2 separate regions of the Homo sapiens genome follow, and region 1 is linked to region 2. Evidence: promoter capture Hi-C in human tissues and cell types (Jung and others, 2019). All regions are on one chromosome and are shown on one strand. Each heading gives the region's core, a stretch centred on a gene start or on the middle of the fragment in contact. The rest is flanking DNA. Distances are from core to core; before and after follow the strand shown. Region 1 overlaps SLIT3 (slit guidance ligand 3). Region 2 holds the start of FBLL1 (fibrillarin like 1).

Region 1 (7,020 bases), core at 3,036-5,535, 140 kb after region 2:
GCCTTTATGCTGCCACAGCTCTCTTCCTAAACCAGAGCTTGTCTTGCTCTTCCCTTCCTCAAACAACCCTGCTGGCACCTGTGGCCCAGTTTAGCATGCACAGCTCTTTGTGGTCAAAACCCTACCTTCCTACCTACCCCATTTCTCTCTGCTCCTCAGTGTGCTTCCCATACTCTTGCCACCCTAGATTTTGACTCTTCCCCAAACAAGCCAGGCCTGGCCATATCTCATTGCTTTTTAAAAGGCCACTCCCAGGAAAGTTCAATTCCCTTTCTCACTCTGGCAAACTCCTATTCATCCTTAAAGACCTAGGACTAGAAGTTCCCTCCTCTGGACAGCCACTTCCATTGCTTGTATTGCCACTTAAGAGCTCCTTGTGTAATAAGGCAATTGTCCATTTTTATGACTGTTTTTGTCACAGGCTGTAGGATCCTCAAAGGCAGGATGTGTTTCTTTCCCATGAGAAGCAGGATGGTTTAGTGGTTGAGTGAGCAAGTTCTGGAGTCAGACAGCCTGGGCCCAGATCCTGGCTCTACGGTTTATTAGACATTTACTCTTGGGCAAGTTCTTTAACTTCTCTGTGTCTCAGTCTACTCAACTGTAAAATGAGTTAATAGTGTTTTAACTACATGGTTGTTTCAATAATTAAATGAATATATATCTATTTCACAATTAGAGTGGTATCTGATGTATAATAAAGTACTAAATAAATCTGCTATTATAATAATGTTTGAAACAGGCTGAGCATAGTGGCTCACACCTGTAATCCCAGCATTTTGGGAGACTGAGGCAGGAAGATGGCTTGAGCCTAGGAGGTTGAGGCTGCGGTGAGCTATGATCGAACCACTCTACTCCAGCCTGGGTGACAAAGCAAGACCTTGTCTCTAATGACAACAAAAAACAAAGCCATCATAAGGCACAGTACCTGGAACATAATGGAGATTTACATGCACATTTTTAGATAAATTCCTCAGCTATATCCCTCTCTCCCTTCTCTTCATCCCCTCCATCCCTTCCTTCTTTCCTTCCTTCCTTCTTCCAGTTGCCTCGTTTTCCTCCATCTTCCTTTCTTTTCTTTCTCCCTTCATTATTCCCTGCGTCTTTGGCCCACCATTGGTACTCACAGATCAACTAGGCTCCTCTAGGGAACCTGAGGGCTGAAAGGTCCAATGAATTCCAAACTCTTCTCCCTGAAACTCCTACAGTGGAAGCTCCTGGGGGAAGGAGGGATGGATGATAAGAGCCAGGGAGTTGGTGTGAACAGCTGAGCCCTGGAAGATATGTGGCTAACCTGATGGGGTGGAAGGGGGCAAATGGGAGTGAGGGAGGGAGAGACATGGAAAGAAACAGGGGCAGGGAAGTCCCCTTCAGGAATGGAGGCAGAGGCTGGATAGGCTGCCCTTGGTCACTTTCCCTAGATGCATAAGCCCTGGTCTCCAGAATCTTTCCAGATACTGCGGAGGGAGAAGGAGTGAGCAAGGCAGAACAAGAGCAGGAAAAAACATCATATTATTTCCTTTTCCGGCAGGGCTGCTCTGATGGATTTAAGCCGCCTGAATCACCTGTGCTCACCCATTCTAGAGGAAGAATCTCAAGCTTTGGGTCTGGACTTCTGGTCTGGCTCCTCCACTTATCTGGTGTGTGGCTTAAGGCAAGTTCCAGAGCCTGTGAGGGCCTAAACTTCCTTCTTAGTGAACCCAGCTCTACTCCCTTATCCTTCCCAGGGAGGCAGGGGTTGCATAGATAAAATAAGGTAAAGTTTGGATATGCATTGGAAAGTGTCACAGATGGGCAAGGAGTCTCTATCGTCATGCTGGTGACCTGGAGGATCAGGTGGCAGAGGCCTGTCTTACAACAAGAGCCTCCAAGAACCTTCCAGAGTTGGACATCTAGCGCTGTGGGCAGACTTGACTTGGCTCCCAGCCTTCCGCTTCCAAGAAGGGCTGACTACCTTCTCTACTGGGATACATTCCAATGAAAAATTACCTGGAAGGAGGAGAGAGGGCCAGTGCATGGGTCCTGAGGAGACACCATGATATTCTCTTCCCTCGCCTCCTCTAGGAAGACCCCTCTCCTGGGGAGGAGCAGGAAAAATAGCAGCTGTTTTAAAATTTGGTAAGACAGTTCCAAATGACACCTGTAGCAGACTTCAATAGTCAGTCCTCGATTGGAAGCCAGGGCCAGCCAGGAAGGAGAAGAGGGGTCCCCCAGTGGGTTCAGATACGGAAGCCAGGGCCACCCAGGAAGGAGAAGAGGGGTCCCCCAGTGGGTTCAGATACCCTGAAGGGGGGTCTGGGACAGACAGGGACAGCAATATTTTTGAGTGGCAGTGAGACTGAGAAGGCCAGGGCTCAGCAGCTTTTCCTGGAAGAACTGGGCATTTTGGGCACTGACATCCAGGACTCCGAAAAGCTGGGTAATTTTAGGGGAGGAAAAATAAAAGGGAGTTAAAAAACAAGAAACAAAGGTCTTTTCCTTCTCTCTCTTCCTCTTATTCCTTTTTCTGATCTCAATGAGCAGCTCTTGGTCTACTGCCGACATAATACCGTTTCATAAACATGAAAACATCTTCCTCCTTCCTCAGACAGGCTATCATTCTTTATTCTTATCCTTTTGTTTTAAAGCATTTTTATTAGTCTATTTTTTTCTTAAATTTTTAAACAGCTATTTTTAAAAACACAACAAATACACAACACAAAACTTGGTAAAAATAACTCACTATATGGTACATATACGCAGATGGTGTAATATATTTATATAATAAAAGATGAAAATAGTCACTTTCCATAATAAAAATAAGTTCTATTTTTTGTTTATTTTACAATATACTTAATATTCTCTTCTTCTTTACCTTCCTCTCCAGCTTCATTTCCTTCATGCTGAATCACCAGGGGGTCCCACATGGCTGTCCCAACTCCATCAAGCTGGAGTCCGAGAGGTGGCAGGCAGGCGGGCAGGGGCTTAGGAACACGCGAGGCAGCCGCACTCTAAGTGTCTCTCCACCTCTTCTACAAACGAGGAGCCGTCCGTGCACTGGAAGACGTATTTCCGCCGCTTGCTGCGGGTGGGCTGGCAGCACTGGGGCCCACAGCCCCCACGACATTCCATGATGGGCACCTTGGAGGCTGTGGCACATGATGCATAACCTTTCTGGCGGCGGATCACCTCTCGGACTACTTGTCCCAGGCACGGATTCTCTGCAGAGGGCATAGAAGTCAGGGCATTGGTGGTCTAGGTGGCCAGCAGGACCATGAGCAGTTCCCAGGTAGGCTGCTTTGAAATACTTGTGCTCTGAAGACTGTAAGAATTTATTCACTCATCCATCTGCCTACCCTCCCCTCCATCCACCCATCTATTTTACAAACAGGTGCCTTTCCTGTACCAGGCTCTCTGACAGGCTTACACCTAAGCCGTGAGGATATAATGATGACAAAAGCAGGCTTGGTCCCTTCCTTCAAGAAACCTAAAGTCAAAACTAAAACTAGATGACGCAAACTGATAGACTGTGGGCCAAATCCTGACCCCAGACCAATTTGGATCACCCTACATGTGCCTAAAAATTAATTAAATGTCAACATTCAAAAAGCAGGAGATTTCACCTGAAAATCTGGATTTCTGCCTTCCTTGAAAACAAGGAGGTCTGGCAGAGCTGAGCCTGCAACCCTGCACTGCAGTGATGGCTGAAGCTGAGTGCTTTAGATGGGGCAGGCAATCTCCAGTTTGCCCCAGTCACTACCACTCCCAATAGTCTGTCTCTCTTGGCCTAGAGTCTAGATACTATTTAAGTGAATATATTTAATAAAGAAACTGAGGTAGATGCTATAAAGAAAGGGAAGATGTTCATACAAGAACATACAGTATATGTTTTTGTATGCTATAAGACATTTGTATTCAAAAGGCATTTGACCTGGCCCAGGGGCCAGGGAGGCTTCTCTGGGAAATGAGCTGGAGTTGATATCTGAATAAGAAGCAGGTGTTGCGATGAGCTTTTCCAGAAGGCCTAGAAATAACTGCAGGCTGGGAAAGGGCACCCCTGTATCTGCTTAAACACTCTGGACCCTGACCCAGCTTTTCATTTCCACCCCTCTACTGTCCTCACTACAGTGGGAGAATGTCTGCAGCAAGGCACTTGAGGAAGGGAGCCATGACCCTTGACCCTTGACAAGCAAGTCACAGTTTCCGTGTCTGCAAAGTGGTAACACATTTACCTGTCCTTCCAGCAACTCCCAGGCTGTTACGGGCACCAGAGGCGATTGTGAAGGAGAAAGGGCTTTATGCATTTTAAAGCTTCAGGTGTTGTTAAAAGTCTTTAAAATTATGAGATTGTTAAAAGGATTAGAAAGAGGTTAATGACAATGTGTGCATGTGCATGTGTATAACATGGGGAGAGACAGGGAGTGCAGATGGGGCAACATGCTAATGACTGGGGTGAAGGGATTAAGCTGTTTATACTGTCCTGACAGTTTTTCTGTAAGTCTGAAATTATTTCAGAATAAGCTATTTAATAACATTTTAAAAATGAGTTTTGGTTAAGAATAGTATTTCGTGTAGGTATAAAATGTGGAAAAGTCCTCAAGGCACGGGGTGGACTGCCTGGGATCCTGGTGGCAGGGAGCAAGACTTCTCAGTGTCCATGCAGGAGAAAGATCCCCCAAGGTAAGACAACCATTTTAATATTAATATAATTTCCTTTGTTTAGGTCAGACCAAAGAACTGGCTTCTGCTGACCCAGTAAGGGCAAGAGGGTTGGATGGAGGCTGTGGAGCAATGCCATCAGCTTGGATACATATGCGAATCATTGCAAAATGCAGGTTCTGACTCAAAAGGGCTGGGGTGGGGCCTGGGAGCCCCAGGTGACTCCCAGGTGATGTCAGTGGTGCTGGTCAATGTCAGGGGGCCACTCTGAGTGGCTAGGGTTTCATTAGTTTTGAAGGCATGGCATCTCAAGGGCCAACAGCTGGAAAAGAGGAGAAAAGAACCATCCAGACTGCTCATGTGTTCTCCCTGCAGAGGTCCACTGAGGACCATTTTCTACACTTGTTTCATCTTTAAAAAGTCCATGCTTTAGAATCTTAACTTTGGCAGTATGAGTTATCTGCACTTTTGTCTTTTCTTGGAGACAGGGTCTGTCTCTGTCACCTGGGCTGGAGTGCAGTGGTGCATTCATTGCAGCTTCAAGCTCCTGAGCTCATGCAATCCTTGCACCTCGGCCTCCCAAAATGCTAGGATTCCAGGTGTGAGCCACCACTCCTGGCCCTATCTAGATGAGGAAGTGAACCACAAGTATGCTGCTCAATGTCATGCAGAGTTGAGACAGGCTCTCACTCTGTCACCCAGGTTGATCTTGGCTGACTGTAACCTCCGCCTCCTGGGTTCAAATGATTCTCTTGCCTCGCCTCCAGCATAGCTGGGATTACAGGCGACCGCCATGATGCCCAGCTAATTTTTGTATTTTTAGTAGAGACAGGGTTTCACCATGTTGGCCAGGATAGTCAAGGTCATGCAGATTCTAAATGACAGTTTGGCCTTCATCGTGACAATGTTGCTTCTGACTTTACATCTCAACATCTCACGTACTCCTCCCAACAACCCTATAAAGAAGCACAGTAGCTAGCCTCCAAGATTGCCCCCAGTGACTACCACCTTCTGGTATTGATGCCCTTTATGTGGTCCCCTCCCTCACTGAATGTACCTGACTGATGTAACCAATGCAATGTGGTGGAAATGATGGTGTGAGTGACTTCCAATTGTAGGTCATACAAGACAAGTGGCTTACTCTCTTCTGGACCATTCACTCTGGGACATGCCAGCTGCCCTGGCGCAAGGACCCTCAAAGAGCCTGTGTAGTGACTCATGCAGGGCAGAACTGGGACCTCCCGCCAACACCCAGCGCCATGGGAGTGCAGCACATTGGAAGCATATCCTGCTGCCTTGGGTTAGCCTACAGAGAACTGCAGCCATGGCTGTGTAGAATGCAACCCTGAGAGATCCCAGCTACGCTCTTTCTGAATTCCCAACCCACAGGAACAATGTAGGCTAAAAAAAATGTTTTTTGTGGTTTTGAACTGCTATGGTTTGGGGCTAAGTTGTTATGCAGCACTAGATAACTGATACAGGAAGGTATAGTATTGCCTCCGTTTTCAAGTTGAGGGAATTGAGGCTCAGAAAGTGACTGAACCAAGGTCATGCAGCCTTTAAGTGGCACAGCCAGAACTGGAACTGAGGTGATCTGGATGTGAAGTCCAACTCTGACCCCCACTTCCTCCCTCCCACAGGCACAGTAGACCCACCTTGTTGGCAGTGCTCGCCGCTAAAGCCGGGCTGGCACAGGCAGTAGGGCTCCCCTTGGTCTGAGATGTGGCACTGCCCATGGTGACACTTGAAGGCTGAGCAGGCATTGGCAGAGTCATTCTTGTTGTCACACAAGTCCCCTCCATAGCCCTCGGCACACTTGCACATGTATGAGGTCCCAGTTGCCACACATTTTCCATGGTGGCATCTAGGGGCAGAGAGGAGGATGAGAAGGGAACTGGATCAGAGTTGGTGCTGCTGGGGACTCCCTCTGTCCACCCAGCCAGGGACCAGGGGACCCGGAGCTGAGTACAGTCCAATAGCTTTCTCTGTTTCCTAGGCTGAGCATCTCTTTTCTTAACCACCTTGGTTCCCCTGGCCAACCAGCCAGAAGCCTGCGAGTGTCACCCAGTGTCCACTGTGAGCTGTGACCACAGCAGAGGCTGGCTTGCTGATTTACACACACACCTCATGCAGCCAAGTAGCAAACAACTGCTTGAAAGAATCTAGCCATTCTCTAAACATTTTAATTGCTTTACCATCTTAAATAAGAATTACTACCACCCCACTACTACCAGCAGGTACCACTGGCTATGTACCAGGAATTGTGTTAAGTGCTTTACACCCAGTATTGCTCTGAATTTCCATCATAACCTCTTGTCTGCTGCTCCTATGCAGTACATTTCACCCATGGAAAAAAATGAAGGTAAAGCCTATATTCTGAATCAT
Region 2 (6,714 bases), core at 3,352-5,851:
ATCAAAAAAATACTTGGTCGCATTATAGAAATTTCACTGGTTAATGAGAGTACATGGGGTCATCTAAAGTAAAACAATTTTTTGCTTTGTTTTGTTGCTTGGTTTGCTTTGCATTTTCATACCAGTTTAATTACATAAATATACATGGTGCTTATAAAATGTAATGGATTGAAGGGGAGCACAGTTAAACTCACTGTAATTTTTGTGGGGATTTTAGATTGTAGGAGTTTGATAGCTTGTATATATATATATATATATATATATATATATATATTTTTTTTTTTTTTTTTTTTTTTTTTTTTTTTTTTTTTGAGATGGAGTCTCACTCTGTCACCCAGGCTGGAGTGCAGTGGCACGATCTTGGCTCACTGCAAGCTCCACCTCCCAGGTTCACACCATTCTCCTGCCTCACCCTCCCCAGCAGCTGGGACTACAGCTGCACGCCGCCACGCCCAGCTAATTTTTTGGTATTTTTAGTAGAGACGGGGTTTCACCGTGTTAGCCAGGATGGTCTCGATCTCCTGACCTTGTGATCCGCCCGCCTCGGCTTCCCAAAGTGCTGGGATTACAGGTGTGAGCCACCACGCCCGGCCAGAATTTTTTTTTTATGTATTGAGATGGGGTCTCACTATGTTTTCCAGGTTGGTCTCGAACTCCTGAGCTCAAGTGATCCACCCACCTCAGCCTCCCAAAGTGCTAGGATTACAGGCATGAGCCACTACGCCCAGCCCAAATTTCAGATTCTTATTCTATAAAATGAAGAATTACAGAGAATTTCTAAGGTGTCTTGTGGAAAGAAGACCTTTGCAAAAGTAGGCCAGCTAAGCTTTTTGAGCATTTCCTGAATGGCAGCCACTAATTCTACAGTGGGGAATGGAGTAAGAGTCTGAGCCACCAAGAGACGAAGTGTCCCCCAGCAGAAGTAATGGCCAAACAATAATGACATCCCAAATAAGGGATTTTAGCTACTTTCCAAGTCCCAGAGGCTACAAAAAGGGAGAAGATTCTCTTTTTCTAATTAATTAACCAGCTATATTAGATATATTATTGGGAGTTGACTAAGATTGTGAGTTTTAGTCGTGTTAGGAAGGAGGTATTATATTTTGTCTTGACGAGTAAATTTAAATATATGCACGCCAAACAGTAAATTTCACCTGAGGTGTTTGTGTTTGGTGCACTGATCCAGGTGTGCCAGCTGGCATTATGCAGTAGACACCTAGGTAAAAACATTTACTGTTCCCCAGTTATGGCACCCACATATCTCAGCTGCCTTTCAGCTAGGCAGGGCATGTGACTGGCTTTGGCCAGTCATCAGCCAGGAGGCTGAAGTGGGAGAATTGCTTGAGCCTGGGAGATCAAGGCTGCAATCCGTGGTGAGTAGAAATGATTGTGTCAAAGTCCAGACTAAACATACAAAAAGGTTGTGAGTTCTCTGCACTCTATTCTTCAGCAGTACAGTGGAGGCCCTCTTTTTTCTCATGTTGCAGCCACAAGATGTTGGGGCCTGAGTTCTTCAGTGGCTGTGTGGTGCAAACCTCCCGCTGACTCTCAGTGGACATAAAACATAAGAAATCTAAACATAGCTGTATTAATACATTGAGATTTTGGAGTTCTATGTTACTGCATCATAGCCCAACTCCTCTTGAGCAAATATAGCTGCACCTGTCACTGGGGTGGAGATCAGATCCCTACAGTCAGTCACCTTTGGAGGTGGACCATGGCTTAGAGAAAACAAGTTTCTTCATGCATGGATGCTTAAAGTATAATGAGAATGGAGATGGGGTTATAGAGTATTACCTCTGGTTTCATGTCAATCATGGCTAGTTACTCCTTGGGCAATTTGTTGGAATGGTTCTGTGAGAAAATAAGCAAAATTCCTCATGCATTTTTTAAGTCTATGGGAATGATTGATGTGCACTATGTCTACTACTGAGGCCTAGTCACAGATGTAATTATGATCATTACTTTAGGGCACATCTTCTGGAATAACAAGTCAATTGTAAACAAAAGTATACATGGTGCCAAGTGTGGAGGCTTGTGCCTAGAATTCCAGCAACTCAGGAGGCTGAGGCAGGAGGATGGCTTGAGGCCAGGAGTTGGAGACCAGCTTGGGCAACATAATGAGGTCTCATCTCTACAAAAAGTAAAAAAAAAAAAAAAAAAAATTGCCAGGCATGATGGTTTATACCTATATAGAAAGAAACCTGGCTGGCCACTGTGGCTCACACCTGTAATCCCAGCACTTTAGGAGACTGAAACAGGAGAACTGCTTGAGTCCAGGAGTTTGAGACAAGCCTGGGCAACATAGTGAGGCTCCATCTCTATAAAGAATAAAATTTTAGCCTGGTGTGGTGGCACACACCTGTAGTCCCAACTACTCAGGAGGCTGAGGTGGGAGGATTGCTTGAGCCTGGGAGATCAAGGCTGCAATAGCCATGATTGTGCCACTGCACTCAGCTTGGGTGACAGAGTGATACCCTATCTTAGAATAAAAAAAGAAAAAATAAAGCCCTTTTCTTTATAAATTACCCAGTCTCAGGTATAGAAACAAATTAAGACAGTGGATTAATGCCCCAGCCTCCAACCTGCAGTAGAACAATTCTGAGATGCCTTCCACACAGTTTCTCAGAATACTCACAGCAATTGAGCTCCCATTGTCCACTGTGGTCATCTACTCATTAATCTACCCTCTTTTTTTTTTTTTTTTTTTTTTTGAGACAGGGTCTCCCTCTGTCACCTAAGCTGGAGTGTAGTGGTGTGAGTTCAGCTCACTGCAGCCTTGATCTCCCAGGCTCAAGCGACCCCTCCAGCTCAGCCTCCTCAGTAGCTGAGGTACTACAGGTACTACAGTGACTACAGGTACTACAGTGACTACAGGTACACACCATGACACCTGGCTAAGTCTTGTTTATTTTTGTAGAGACAGGGTCTTGCTATCATGCTAGGACTGGTCTTGAACTCGTGGGCTCAATCAATCCTCCCACCTTGGCCTCCCAAAGTGCTGGGATTACAGGTGTGAGGCACTGTGCCCAGTTCTTTCTTAACCTTTCTATCTTCTCTATCTCATTTTTGCCTCCCCAACATGTGCTTCCTGGGATCACCTCACAAACCAATTGGACTCAAGGCTTTGTCTCAGGATCTCTATTATTCAAGGTTCTCCAAAGACACAGGCCTGTAGGATATATATATGTGTGTATATATAGGATATATATTGGCTCATGTGATTGTGGAGACCAGCAGGTCCAAAATCCGCAGGGCCAATGTCCCAGTCCAAAGGTTGTCAGGCAGAAAGAGCTGATGTGCCAGTTGAAAGGCCCTTGGGCAGGAGAATTCTCTCTTCCGTGGGGAAGGTCAGCATTTTGCTTTATTTCTGCCTTCAACTGATTAGATGAGGCCCAGCCACATCGTAGACGGCAATCAGCTTTACTCAATATACCAATTTAAATGTTAATCTCATCAAAAAACACCCTCACAGAAACACTCAGAATACTATTTGACCAAATATCTGGGCATCCCATGGCCCAGTAAAGTTGACACATAAAATTAACCCTCACAGACACCAAGTGTAGTTCATCATTTTGGAAAATATTCACCTTATAGCAAGAATGGAAACCTCTAAGTAGAGTATTTTATGTGAACCATTCAACCTCAGGAATCATACATTTCACTCACTGATCCCTTGTTCACATTCCAGTGTATAAAACTCTGGTCCCCATTAAGGAGACACTCCAGTCCTCAGGGAAAATCAGACCTGGCACTGTCGTCCATGAGTATGAGACGGGAAGAGCTGTGGTCCAGGATGGAACGGAAGTCATACTGCACATACCAGGTGTTCAGTAAATGCTCCGATCTTCAGGTGCGCGTTGTCTCTCTCTCTCTCTCTCTCGAGTAGACACTTAATTCAACTAACGGGAGGCTGGCCAGTTGTTTCACCACCTATCCTACTTTCCCCAGCTCTTGTGTGGTTCCCAAAGCCCCTAGCAGTAGCCAAAACGGGGGCCCCAACTGCTGTCGCTGTCCCTGGTGCTGACTAAACCCTAAAGCCTCTGCGTTGCGGCCTTGGGGCCATTGGTGGTGCCGAGTTATTCTTTTATTTTCTTTCTGTTCTTTTCTTTTTTTCTTTTCTTCTCGTTGCTGCCCTTGGTGCTGCCCAATTATTCTTTTCTTTTCTTCTCCTCTCCCTCTCTCTCTTTTCTTTCTCTCTCTTTCTTTCTTTTTCTCTTTTTCTTTCTTTCCTCAAGAAAATGCTGCAGATTTAGAGAGTGACTTTGAAGCATAGACTAGACTTCGAGGATGAACATGACATTTTGGCTCTCTGTGTATCCCCATTCACACTGAAGAATCAACAACACTTCCTTGCTGATCAATAGTCCCAGAACTGGTGGCACAGCCAGGACCGACGCTGATGCTTACCTCCCCCTCTCCTGCAGCAGAGACGCCCCCGTCCCTGTGGCCCAGGGAAGTGCCAGGGATCCCTGGGAAGGCGGGAGATGGGGAAGGGGCAGGGTGAGCGAAGAGGAGCAGGCTGCGTCTGCACGCGGGCTGGGAAGCGGGGCTTCCGGGCCGCAGGGTCGCGGGGACGGGTGTGATGCAATCGCGCCACAGCCGCTGCGTCAAGGGGCGGCTCCGGGATGCGGGCACTGCGGTAGAGCCCGTCCTGCCCCCGCCGCCCGCCGCCCGCCGCCCGCCTCCGCTGCTAAACCCGCGGACAACCGCCGGGACGACCACCCAGAGCCACCAGAGCCCCCTGACACCCGCCCCGAGGCACCGGTAACCCACGGCACCCGCCCCGGTGCGTGCCATGAAGTCGGCCGCGAGCTCGCGCGGGGGCGGTGGGGGCGGCCGCGGGGGCGGCGGCTGGGGCAGCTGGGGCGGGGGCCGAGGCGGCGGCGGCGGCGCGGGCAAGGGCGGCGGGGGCGACGGCGGCGGCCAGGGGGGCAAGGGCGGCTTCGGGGCGCGGGCGCGCGGCTTCGGCGGGGGCGGCCGGGGCCGGGGGCGCGGCGGCGGCGACGGCAAGGATCGCGGCGGCGGTGGACAGCGGCGGGGCGGCGTGGCCAAGAGCAAGAGCCGCCGCAGGAAGGGCGCCATGGTGGTGTCGGTGGAGCCGCACCGGCACGAGGGCGTCTTCATCTACCGCGGGGCGGAGGACGCGCTGGTCACGCTGAACATGGTGCCGGGCCAGTCTGTGTACGGCGAGAGGCGCGTCACGGTGACCGAGGGCGGCGTGAAGCAGGAGTACCGCACGTGGAACCCGTTCCGCTCTAAGCTGGCCGCGGCCATCCTGGGCGGGGTGGACCAGATCCACATCAAGCCCAAGTCCAAGGTGCTGTACCTGGGCGCCGCGTCGGGCACCACCGTCTCCCATGTCTCCGACATCATTGGCCCAGACGGCCTGGTCTACGCCGTCGAGTTCTCCCACCGCGCCGGCCGCGATCTGGTCAACGTGGCCAAGAAGCGCACCAACATCATTCCGGTCCTGGAGGACGCGCGGCACCCGCTCAAGTACCGCATGCTCATCGGGATGGTGGACGTGATCTTCGCCGACGTGGCCCAGCCGGACCAGTCCCGCATCGTGGCCCTGAACGCCCACACCTTCCTGCGCAATGGGGGCCACTTTCTCATCTCCATCAAGGCCAACTGCATCGACTCCACCGCATCCGCCGAGGCTGTGTTTGCTTCTGAGGTGAGGAAGTTGCAGCAGGAGAACTTGAAGCCTCAAGAGCAGCTGACCCTGGAGCCCTATGAGCGGGACCACGCTGTGGTGGTCGGGGTCTACCGACCTCTTCCCAAGAGCAGCAGCAAATAGCACCCAGCTCAGGCTCGCCTGCCATCTCCCCAAGGCTGCGTTGTGTTTGCTATTATTTTCTGTGTGTTTTCTTTGTGAGTGTTTTGTTTTGTTGTTTTTCTATTAAACTGCATAAAGAAACGGCACCTATCTGTATGGTGATGCCAGGCTAGGTTTTGCTGCAGTAACAATCAACCCCCAAATCCCAGTGGCCTAAACCGGCTGGTATAAGGGGCCCATCCAGCAGTAGCCTGGGAGCTGTGCTCATTCTAATCACTCAGGTCTCCAACTCCCCAGGGCCCCATTTTCACACATGCTCCCCCCATCCCTAGGGCAGAGGAAAGAGAGCTGCGGAATTGCTAATAAAAGCTTTTAAATGTCCCCTTGGAACTGATGGGGCACTTCTGCTCACATTTGGCCAAGTCACATGACCCAGCCTGACTCGGGAAAAACACTGAATGTTGGTGGACAATAATATAGTCAAACACACCAATCATCTGACTCACAGCCAAAGTCTTAACCACAATAGGTTTTTAGTATTTTACTCTTCAACTAAGCCCTTTTGCATTCACTGTTAAAGTGAATAATAAATAAATGTTAAATTTATTCCTCACACCAGCCCTGAGATGGCTTTGTTAGCACTTGCATATTACATGTGAAGCAACAGGGCTTCTGAAGGTAAACTATTTTGCCCAAACGTACATAGCCAGTAAGGAGGTAGAACTTAAATGCCAGTCTTCGGGGCTCTAAATCCATTGCTGTTTCCTCAGCACCAGGGGGATCTTGTCTCTGGTCCCCAACCCCTATGGCATGTGCACAGGGACACACTTAGAGCAGGGCCCTGTGACCTTATTGTGTTCTTTCGCCCTCCCCTGTCCCCCCCGGGCTACCCCTTTGTTTGGTTTCACAATAGCAAAACAAGATGCGGG

What was found. The method cuts DNA at HindIII sites, captures the fragments that hold promoters and counts their contacts. A contact is called where the count stands out against the background at its distance.
Region 1: a contact is called between a fragment that was not itself captured here and the fragment with the promoter of FBLL1 in region 2, in 2 of the 25 tissues and cell types used here (H1 embryonic stem cells and spleen).

What each region holds. Positions count from the first base shown.
Region 1 is chr5:168,663,493-168,670,512 of GRCh38, forward strand. It overlaps SLIT3 (slit guidance ligand 3), which reads right to left. Exons shown (of 36, transcript NM_003062.4): 35 at 6,291-6,499; 36 at 1-3,197. The coding sequence ends at 2,962. Among named protein-coding and RNA genes, the nearest start is that of SLIT3-AS2, 40 kb to the right of the region's middle. The HindIII fragment of the contact is 8,529 bases long and covers 22-7,020 here.
Region 2 is chr5:168,524,704-168,531,417 of GRCh38, forward strand. FBLL1 (fibrillarin like 1) reads left to right here and starts at 4,602. Exons shown (of 1, transcript NM_001355274.2): 1 at 4,602-5,931. The coding sequence starts at 4,802. The coding sequence ends at 5,806. RefSeq lists a silencer at 3,761-4,055 and enhancers at 4,909-5,450, 6,306-6,475. The HindIII fragment of the contact is 8,115 bases long and covers 1-6,714 here.